Linked DNA regions of Homo sapiens: region 2 is linked to region 1. The links are contacts of gene promoters, found by promoter capture Hi-C in blood cells and fetal thymus (Javierre and others, 2016). All regions are on one chromosome and are shown on one strand. Each heading gives the region's core, a stretch centred on a gene start or on the middle of the fragment in contact. The rest is flanking DNA. Distances are from core to core; before and after follow the strand shown. Region 1 holds the start of PLPP5 (phospholipid phosphatase 5). Region 2 overlaps NSD3 (nuclear receptor binding SET domain protein 3).

Region 1 (4,554 bases), core at 307-2,806:
AATAGATGCCAAAGTCATTTATTCAGTCCTTAGTTTTCTTATGTGGCATTACTGCATCTGCTAGTTAGTGAGAAAGCACCCTCAGCTTTTACTGCTCCCCTCCCTGCCTGCCAACACACTTGATGTGTGCAAACAGCCCTCAAGTATCTGTCAGATGACCTATATAAGGTATTGAATAAGGTATTCTTGTCAGTTTAGAAATGGACTGGATAAAACTTACTTGGTTGTCATTATTTTATCTCATTTGTCCTGTTACATGCCCTATGTTAAGATAATTATATTGCCACTAATAATCAAGATGCTAAATGAGTATTACAACTGGCTAATATCATTTTTTATATACAAGGGTATGTGTATATTTGGAATTGATATGAGAAACTCATTTGTACCCATTTGAGTGATATTGCACAACAAACACAGATACCTACAGACTCCGTTTTCATTTTCTCGTGTTCTTTATGATAATGATCTTTGTAGATTGGTTATTTCTGTACTTTATCTGTAATAAACTTTGTAGATCCTGTGAACCATTACTTTGCCTAAATCACTTGAGACTTGAGTCTTTAATAACAAAGCATCAATATTCACTAAAGTCAATCTCTTTTGAGTTTCTGTGACTTGGCTAGAAGCTCTTGACACTAAGGGATTAGTGTTAATTTTCCCTGGGGGTGTTCCACTAGGGCATTACTGTATAATGACTTGATGTTGCCACATAGACTTCAAGATATATAATATTTTGAGGATTTTGTTGATTGGCCTATGTTTTATTGCATAGTGTGAAACGTGTAAAGCTTGGTTAACCTGTATATAGATAGCTTATTGTTGACTAGTTATAGTGTATTTAGGGTTGCCTGTAATATTTAAGCTTCTTTACTGATGTGTGTGCTGGTAGGAACATATAATTTTTGTACATTATATTTACTGAGATGTTGCCTTTTTTATTTTACAAATACTTTGGAATTCCAATGTGTTTTTTGCTTCCGTGAGGATTAATTTGGAAAGGTTTTTAATGACATTCCACTGATTTCAGATTTTGCTTGAGATTGACTTCAATAAATTGTCCTGTATGTTCCAAATTAAATATGTGGGCTTGTTCTTTGCCAATAATTTTTTGCTACAACACTCTGGGCAGGAGGCCATCCTGGGTGGGAGGACTAAATGACACAATCCAGCCAACCTCAGGTAGTGTAGCTTCCTGCAGAATGCGGCTGTGTTGCTAAGGAACGAGGATCTGAGAGCGGGCTGTTTGGTTTTCCATTTAGAGGCGAGGTCCCGGGAGAAGGCTGCTCCCCGCGGTGGTGTGGTTGGGCCGTGGAGACGAGCTGCTGATGATGGACCGTACGCCGACCTACTCGGCTGGAACTGGGGCGCTGGCTCCCTGCTGAACGCACCAGAGGGCAGCTCCGCTGGCTTTGCGTACCCTTTGCCAGACGATGCCCTCGGCACAGCCGCCAGGCCGTCTTCCTGGGGAGCCGCCGGAGCGCGGGCAACTGGGAGAGGGGGCGGTGCCCAGTTCCCGGCCCGGCCCTCCCCGCGGAGGTGGCCACGTCAGCGCAGCGTCGCTCGGAGCTCGCGGCCGGATGGGGAAGGCGGCGGCGGCGGTGGCCTTTGGGGCCGAAGTGGGCGTGCGGCTCGCGCTGTTCGCGGCCTTCCTGTAAGAAAGATCCACGGCCGGGCCCGGGCGGCCCCGCTTCCCAGGCAGGCGGGCGGCACGGGGCGGCGGGTCGGGCAGTGGGGAAGCGGGGAGGAAGCCAGGCGACCTGCTCTGCGCTTCTTTGTTCCCCTCTAGGGTGACGGAGCTGCTCCCCCCGTTCCAGAGACTCATCCAGCCGGAGGAGATGTGGCTCTACCGGAACCCCTACGTGGAGGCGGAGTATTTCCCCACCAAGCCGATGTTTGTGCGTGGAGAAAGATCGTCTTTCCTCCCTCCCCATGACCCGGCTTCCCGCGGGCACCTGTGCGTTTTCCACCCCGAGACGGCCTTTGTAGGGACCCACTGCCCACTCCGCTGCTGTGCGCTGGGTTCCGCCTCCTAGGGCTCGAGTGTTTAAGATCCTGATTGAGAGAGGAGGGTGTCCGAGCCTCTTTGGGCTGAGACAACGTTTTCCCGGGCGCTCTGTGCCTCAGCCTGAGGTACCGGGGCCCGAGCCGCACGGGCGCTGCTGTTCACTGGTGGCGCTGCCTGGCGCCCGGTTACGCGCACTCAGAGACCTTATGTTAGCTCCAGTGAGTCCTGCTGTGTCACATCCCTCTTTCCTGTAGGAGCACGAGTGTGGCTTTTTTTTGGATTGTTTTTAACCTCTGACATTCTGATTCAGGTTATTGCATTTCTCTCTCCACTGTCTCTGATCTTCCTGGCCAAATTTCTCAAGAAGGCAGACACAAGAGACAGCAGACAAGCCTGCCTGGGTGAGCGCTAGCCCTTTCGGGCCGGTTTCTTCGTGCTGGGAACCTAGGAGGTCGTTGTGGGATTCAGCCACGGTGAGCCTGTGTGGAGGCCACTGAGTTCTGCATTCCTAAAGGAACTCTATCCCCGCGGGAGAGGAAAATAGCACTGCAGGGACTTGGTTACGCAGGCTACACGGCAGGCAGCCCTGTGCCTAAATGCACTGGGTTATTTGTACCTCAGAAATGTCTTTGGCCTAGTACAAAAGTTCTCGGCTACAAAAGAGTGATCACTGAGGACCCTAATTATTTTTGTGCCCAGGCCTGGTTGGATTCTATCCATCTCAGAAACAGCACGGCTGCTCTCATAACGAGGCCATGACCATACCTTTCCTCCTAGACAGATCCTTTCAACTAATGGCTTTGCTTTGCAGCTGCCAGCCTTGCCCTGGCTCTGAATGGCGTCTTTACCAACACAATAAAACTGATCGTAGGGAGGTAAGTGACAACAGCTAACCACCCCAGCATCTGCCTCAGCCCTTACCCACCAGAACAGAGAGGTTAATGGTGTCCACCACACGTCTTTCTCATTCTTTTCTCCTTTATCTTCACTCTGATTTTTCTTTTGTCATTCAACGCTTACTCCCTTCCCCATACCTCAGTCCTCCAGGTGACACCTGGGCTCTTTTCTGCCTGAACAGCATTTCCCACCAACGGCCACAGCAGTCGGTCAGTGTCCTCTTGAGCACCTCCTGAAGCTGCAGTGTCATTTGCTGTTTGCCCTAAAAAGTAATCATGTGCTGGAATGGGCGTTTTTCCCCTAATTTAAATGCTCACCTTGAAAGGCTTTTCTCTTAGTGTGGTGACTATACTAAGCCAGTTACCTTATTTTGCCTGGGGCACTATTTGACCAATAGTTAACAGGATTATTAATGTCTGCTACAACTGAAAAATAATTTCTGGAGTTAATGATTTACGTTCCAACCATGCTGCTTTCTTCCAGGCCACGCCCAGATTTCTTCTACCGCTGCTTCCCTGATGGGCTAGCCCATTCTGACTTGATGTGTACAGGGGATAAGGACGTGGTGAATGAGGGCCGAAAGAGCTTCCCCAGTGGACATTCTTCCTGTATGAATATCATATGGACTCTACCCTATGCTTGTTTTCACATCATTGAATTTAACCTAGAAAGCTAGTAGGGATGGGAAAATCTGACTACTCTTGTTTCTACAATTTGGAAAATCCCCCCTTCTTTAGTAACTCCACAGTTTAACAAGTCTGAGCCTTGACTATTTGGGTAAATATTACAGAACAGAAAGGTAGTTTACCTTCATGAGATTTGCACATTTAATTGTTATATTATTTGCCTAGATCCTGCAATCTTGTACTAGCAATAAAAATACCTTTAACGAAGAGTTTCTATGTGTCAGGTACTTTGAAGCATTTTCATTTCTTACCTAATTATAGCTCACAATAATCCAATGAGGTGGGGACTATTGTATTTATGAGTCCCATTTATAGATGAGGAAACTAAAGCATCAACAAGTTGATACATATAGCTAGTATACCGAAAACTATACTCAGATAAAACATTAACTTTGGGGCACTAAGTCCTTCATTTTTCTTTTTGTTTCCCTTTCCTTCACAATGACTTACACTATAAGTATACACAAAAAAGGATTAAAACACCCTCATGGCCGGGTGTGGTGGCTCATACCTGTAATCCCAGCAATTGGGAGGCCAAGGCATGCAGGTCACTTGAGGCCAGGAGTTCAAGACCAGGCTAGCCAACATGGTGAAATCCCAACTCTACTAAAAATAAAAAAATTAGCTGGGCATGGTGGCACACACATGGAGTCCCAGCTACTCGGGAGGCTAAGGCAGGAGAATCGCTTGAACCCGGGTGGTGGAGGTTGCAGTGAGCCGAGATGGTGCCACTGCACTCCAGCCTGGGCGACAGAGCAAGACTGTCTCAAAAAATAAATAAATAAAAACATACTCATGCTTCCTAGCCTCCTATGTGGGGATGAATGAGGTAGCTTCCTTTAAAAGACAAACCACTTAAAAGTTTTTCTTGTTCCAGTTGCATTTGCTGGTCTGGCCTTTGCGTCCTTCTACCTGGCAGGGAAGTTACACTGCTTCACACCACAAGGCCGTGGGAAATCTTGG
Region 2 (4,547 bases), core at 257-2,756, 52 kb before region 1:
AACAATATATTGTTATCAAACTACCCGCTCCTTCCCAAAAACAAAACAAAGTAGTGGGATCCTTCATTTTGGCTTTGAACTAAAGTGAGGGAAGTCATTTATACATAGCCAAGAGCAATGAAACCAGAAAATATAAAGGTTATATGAAAGGCTTTATAGATAGAGCTTCTATCTGATTTTATAGGTCTTAGTGGCTTCTTCCTATGGCAAGCCAGAGGTGATTATGATTTAGGAAGGAATACGTAGGTGGTCCAGGCACTGAAAACATGGAGAACAGCTGCACTGCAGGTATCATTCCTCCTCAGGCTCACAGAATGAAATCATTCCTGACAATGTTCTTTCAAGTTGTGTTCTTCAATTTCAGTTTTATCCTTTCCAAAAATGGGGTCCATGTGAGTTTTCTTCAATTCGCTTTTAAAGAATTGTACTCTTTAAAAATCTTAATAGTTTGTTTTACCATTTAACATGAAAAAGCTTGATAATTTGTTTCAACTAGTTTTCCACGACTAATTATTTCCAGAGTATAACAGATCCCTTGATAGTCAAATTAATGATTAGGTTTTGGTCACATTTTTTGCCTTCCCTGCTTTTCCTGCTTTTGTTATTAATAACAACAGCAAAACTTACATAAGTGCAACAAGCACTGTTAACCATTTTATGTATAGAATTAATTAAACTCATTTGTTAAAATGCAGAATGTGTGGCACTGATTGAATTTTGAACCAATAATTTCTAACATCAGGTGGATAATAAAGTTTATTTTTATGCATCCTTCAGTCCCTTCATTCCCTAATTATATTTACCTAAAGATGTTTATGTGCCTTTAAAACTAATGTGTCTGCTGTTTTAGTTTGACTTTTCAATTTTTAAAAAACCAATCCCCCTTTATTTGTATAATTTAGGACCCTTTGTGAATCCCAGTCTCAGCTTATCAGCCTTTACAATTTGATCTGTTAAATAATTTATATGCTCCTGAATGTTTAGCATTTTTTAATGATTTTAATTAAAATTCCAAAAGTAATGGGTAAGAAAAGCAAGGAATGTGGTCATATCTTAATTACATAGATGTCAAGGTATCCTTAAGTGAGTTTTTGTTTGTGTGTTTAAATCATTTCTTAGGCTCAGTAGAAAAGAAGCAACAGAGAAGATCAATTAGAACTCGTTCTGAATCAGAGAAATCCACTGAGGTTGTGCCAAAGAAGAAGATCAAAAAGGAGCAGGTTGGCTTCCTACATGTAGAGAGTTAAAACATTGTATTTGTAAATGTTGTGGCTTACATTCCTGTCTTAAAAGAAAGAGAAACTTTCCCCCACACTGAGTTTCCTTTCTGGACTATCTTAACGCTTCTGTCCTGGTGGGTTCCAGTGCTCAGTTTTAATACAGCCATCCCTGTGATTCTGCTTCAAGCATTTTCACAGAAAACAGGTTTCAGGAGATGGGAAGCCAGTGGTGCAAGACTTAAAAAATCCTTCACATTTATTTAGAAGTTTCTGTTATCAGCAGAATGATTTCATGTTTTTATGATTTTTATTTGGAACCATCATTGAGTTCCTTTTTTTTTTTTTAAGTTTGATTTTTGGTTTAAGCTGCTGGTATATATTGTTTTTTATTTTTTAAACAAATCAATTTAATTTATATTCTTATATTTAAGAAGCAGATATTCATAGATGATCTGTTTTTTCTGTTAATATCGCAGATTTTTTGGAATGTTATTTTCCCAGTGGAATATTCACCTGATATCAGGTTGTCAGATAAATAATATTTAGGTAAAAAAAGGTGTGTGGGGGGGTTGCATTTTGACTGAAGTGTATTAAACCAGTGTAATCAATGTAGTAAGATACATTTAAATCAACTTTTCAAATAAAATTTTAGAAGCCATTCTTCTTTAAATTAAACTCACAATCAGATTTTTTCTTAATTTTTTTGTTAAAGAATATCCATTCTTACAGCCTAAACACCTGCTAGCAAACAAAACAAATTCTGAATAGAATTAGTTCCAATAAGTTTTATATTTTTTAAACCATTTATATGGAAGAATGTGAGCTTTTCTATTTAAAATATTTCCTTCATGATTTTAAACTTCCAAATTTAAAAGCTAACTTTGTGGGTGCTCTGTGGTATCACCAAGCAAGTGAAACAGTTTTTCCAGAATATTTAACTAAAATTTAAATAGTATACTAATTTGTCATTCATTTATCATATTAACTTTCATATTTCATACTTAGGAAATTATATTCCAAAAAATCTTTCTAAGCTCTTGAAAATCTATAGTTATTCATTACCAAAATGAAGTTGTGATTTTGCCAGCTGGTTCCCAAAATCAGTCTGTGACCAGTCAGTTTTAAACTAATAAGCAGAATGAGTATAAAAAGTGGGACAAATTGTTAATGCCACTGTGTTATAGTTAGTAGTAGAACAATACCAGTGATTGTTTAGAAGATTTTATATTTGTATTACTAATTGTATCTTATAAAAGCGTTTCTGTTGTATGTTTTTTTACCTGTTGTAAAAAAAATAAAATTTTTTTTAAAAAGCTTAGAACAATCCTTAAATATTTACAAAATGTGTTTCAACATTCATATTTCACCACATCTTAAAGAAACATGAAATTCAATTTATAGCTTAAACAGGAACTCCTCCAAACAGCCTCCTTTCTCTAATTCCAATGGTTCAATCCTCAAATTACCACGTGTTTTACATATACATTGGCAGAATAACTTCTGATCTCGCTCTCCTAATGTAGGATCAAGACACTGTTCATAAGACACTCAAGAAAGTGCTTTTGCAATATCACAAACTTATTTTCTTAAGTTTGTACTAGCAGCAAAAGTATTGAGCTTCCAGCTGTATGGAGCCCTGTAGCACTCTCTACAGAGAGGGTCCTGATTCCCAGCAACTTAGCTGTGAGTGCAGGCGCGGAAGGGTCTTAAAGTGGCGTGAGTTACATTAACCTGAGTATCATAGTAAGTAAAAATTTATCCTAACGTCTTTGGGGCGGGAGGGGTTTTTAGCAACATTGGGGCCGGTTGCAGAAACAACCCCTCTCCTGCCTTCCAGACACTGAGGAAAGTATTCTTGTTCTCTTCATATACCAAGGGAATGGTGGGAAAAGTCTTTGCTAGAGAGCATGTGGCTGTGTGTTGTCACTTGATATTCAGCACAGGCAGCTAGGATTTAAACCCTCCCTGATCTTGAGACAGAGAACTTTACCCAAAAGATGGGACTGAGTTCAGATTTCAGATACATTAATCACTCATCATTGCTTAGATTGATGAAAGTATCTTTTCCCTCTGTTAATAATTAAAAGGGAAAAAAATTCTTTGTTAATGCTGTATTTTTCTGTCCAAACAGGTTGAAACAGTTCCTCAGGCTACAGTGAAGACTGGATTACAGAAAGGTGAGTTAATATTATAATGTTGCTTTGCATTTCCTTGATTAAAACCAATTTTTAAGAATTATTTGTACTTCATGTATTTTTGTCTGTCTCTGTAAATCGTTGTTGCTCTTCAGTGTGAAATTGCAGTATTCCCCAGTGTTCGTGTGTGTGTGTGACTTTTAGAGTTGATCTTATTCTGTACCTCCACGTGAAAAGTCTTACTTGTTTTGGTAAATTGGAGAACACAACGTAGACTTGATACTGTTTCCAACTTTTCTCCATAAGATTCTGGGGTTTCACTGGCTTATAAACTAGGGATGTGACGAATCCACTTTTTTTGGTATTCGACTGAATACCGAATAGTAGCTATTCATGTTTGTCAAACATGGACTATGACAAATCAGACAAGACAAGCTGATTGAAAAAATCTTGCCACATTTATTTTTACAGTGCTGTAAAATCTTTTTGTAAATTAAAATGATTCATAGCATTTATGGCCACTATTAGATGACCTTATGCGAATCTATTTGAGATATGCACAAAGTTTAAGAAAGCTTAAACTTATATCTGTATTTTCTGTGTGCAATTTGACTACAGTACAAACTCCATAGCATGATTCGTGCGTTTTTGGTGAGATCAAACTGTATTTAATACCTGTAGTTTACTCTGGGCAAATTGCATTATTTAAAAATAAAATAAAACAACAGCCTCTCTGCATTCTCGGGGAGAAGTCTGCAGCGATGGTCTCCGTGGAGATCCTCAGCAGAACTGAACAGCCTCTCGGAGGGAACACTGCTTGGCGGAGCTCCAAGAAAAGACATCGCGATCGCTGCGAGATTAGGAGGCCTGATTGCGTTGTGTTTCCACCATTCCACAGGGTCGGCGGACCGGGGAGTGCAGGGCTCTGTCAGATTCAGTGACAGCTCCGTCTCCGCAGCGATTGAGGAAACTGTGGACTGAGATTCCTGTACAATTTCATCCCAGAAACTCCAGACTTGTAGTCTCCATGCAAGATTTCTTTGTCGGCGGCTTGATAAACAGTTTCTTTGTTTTCGATTTTGATTTCGCCAATCATCATTATTGGCATTTTCCTGCCTGGTTTCTTCTTCAAGACTCTGAACAATTGCTTTAACAGTCAAATGATTTTTTTTTTTCGGTTTGAGCTGGATGG

The links. Contacts are between HindIII fragments. The CHiCAGO score rates a contact against its expected background, and 5 or more counts as called.
Region 2: a fragment that was not itself captured here is called in contact with the fragment with the promoter of PLPP5 in region 1 in 6 of 17 cell types (total CD8 T cells, total B cells, total CD4 T cells and 3 more); the score reaches 8.3 in total CD8 T cells.

What each region holds. Positions count from the first base shown.
Region 1 is chr8:38,266,226-38,270,779 of GRCh38, reverse strand. It overlaps PLPP5 (phospholipid phosphatase 5), which reads left to right and starts at 1,556. Exons shown (of 7, transcript NM_001102559.2): 1 at 1,556-1,654; 2 at 1,790-1,898; 3 at 2,319-2,409; 4 at 2,820-2,883; 5 at 3,389-3,513; 6 at 4,469-4,554. The coding sequence starts at 1,581. NSD3 (nuclear receptor binding SET domain protein 3) reads left to right here. Exons shown (of 24, transcript NM_023034.2): 24 at 1-1,076. It also overlaps a transcript of DDHD2 not described here. RefSeq lists a silencer at 1,358-1,837. The HindIII fragment of the contact is 3,801 bases long and covers 868-4,554 here.
Region 2 is chr8:38,317,745-38,322,291 of GRCh38, reverse strand. NSD3 (nuclear receptor binding SET domain protein 3) reads left to right here. Exons shown (of 24, transcript NM_023034.2): 8 at 1,120-1,220; 9 at 3,352-3,397. Among named protein-coding and RNA genes, the nearest start is that of PLPP5, 51 kb to the right of the region's middle. The HindIII fragment of the contact is 2,060 bases long and covers 477-2,536 here.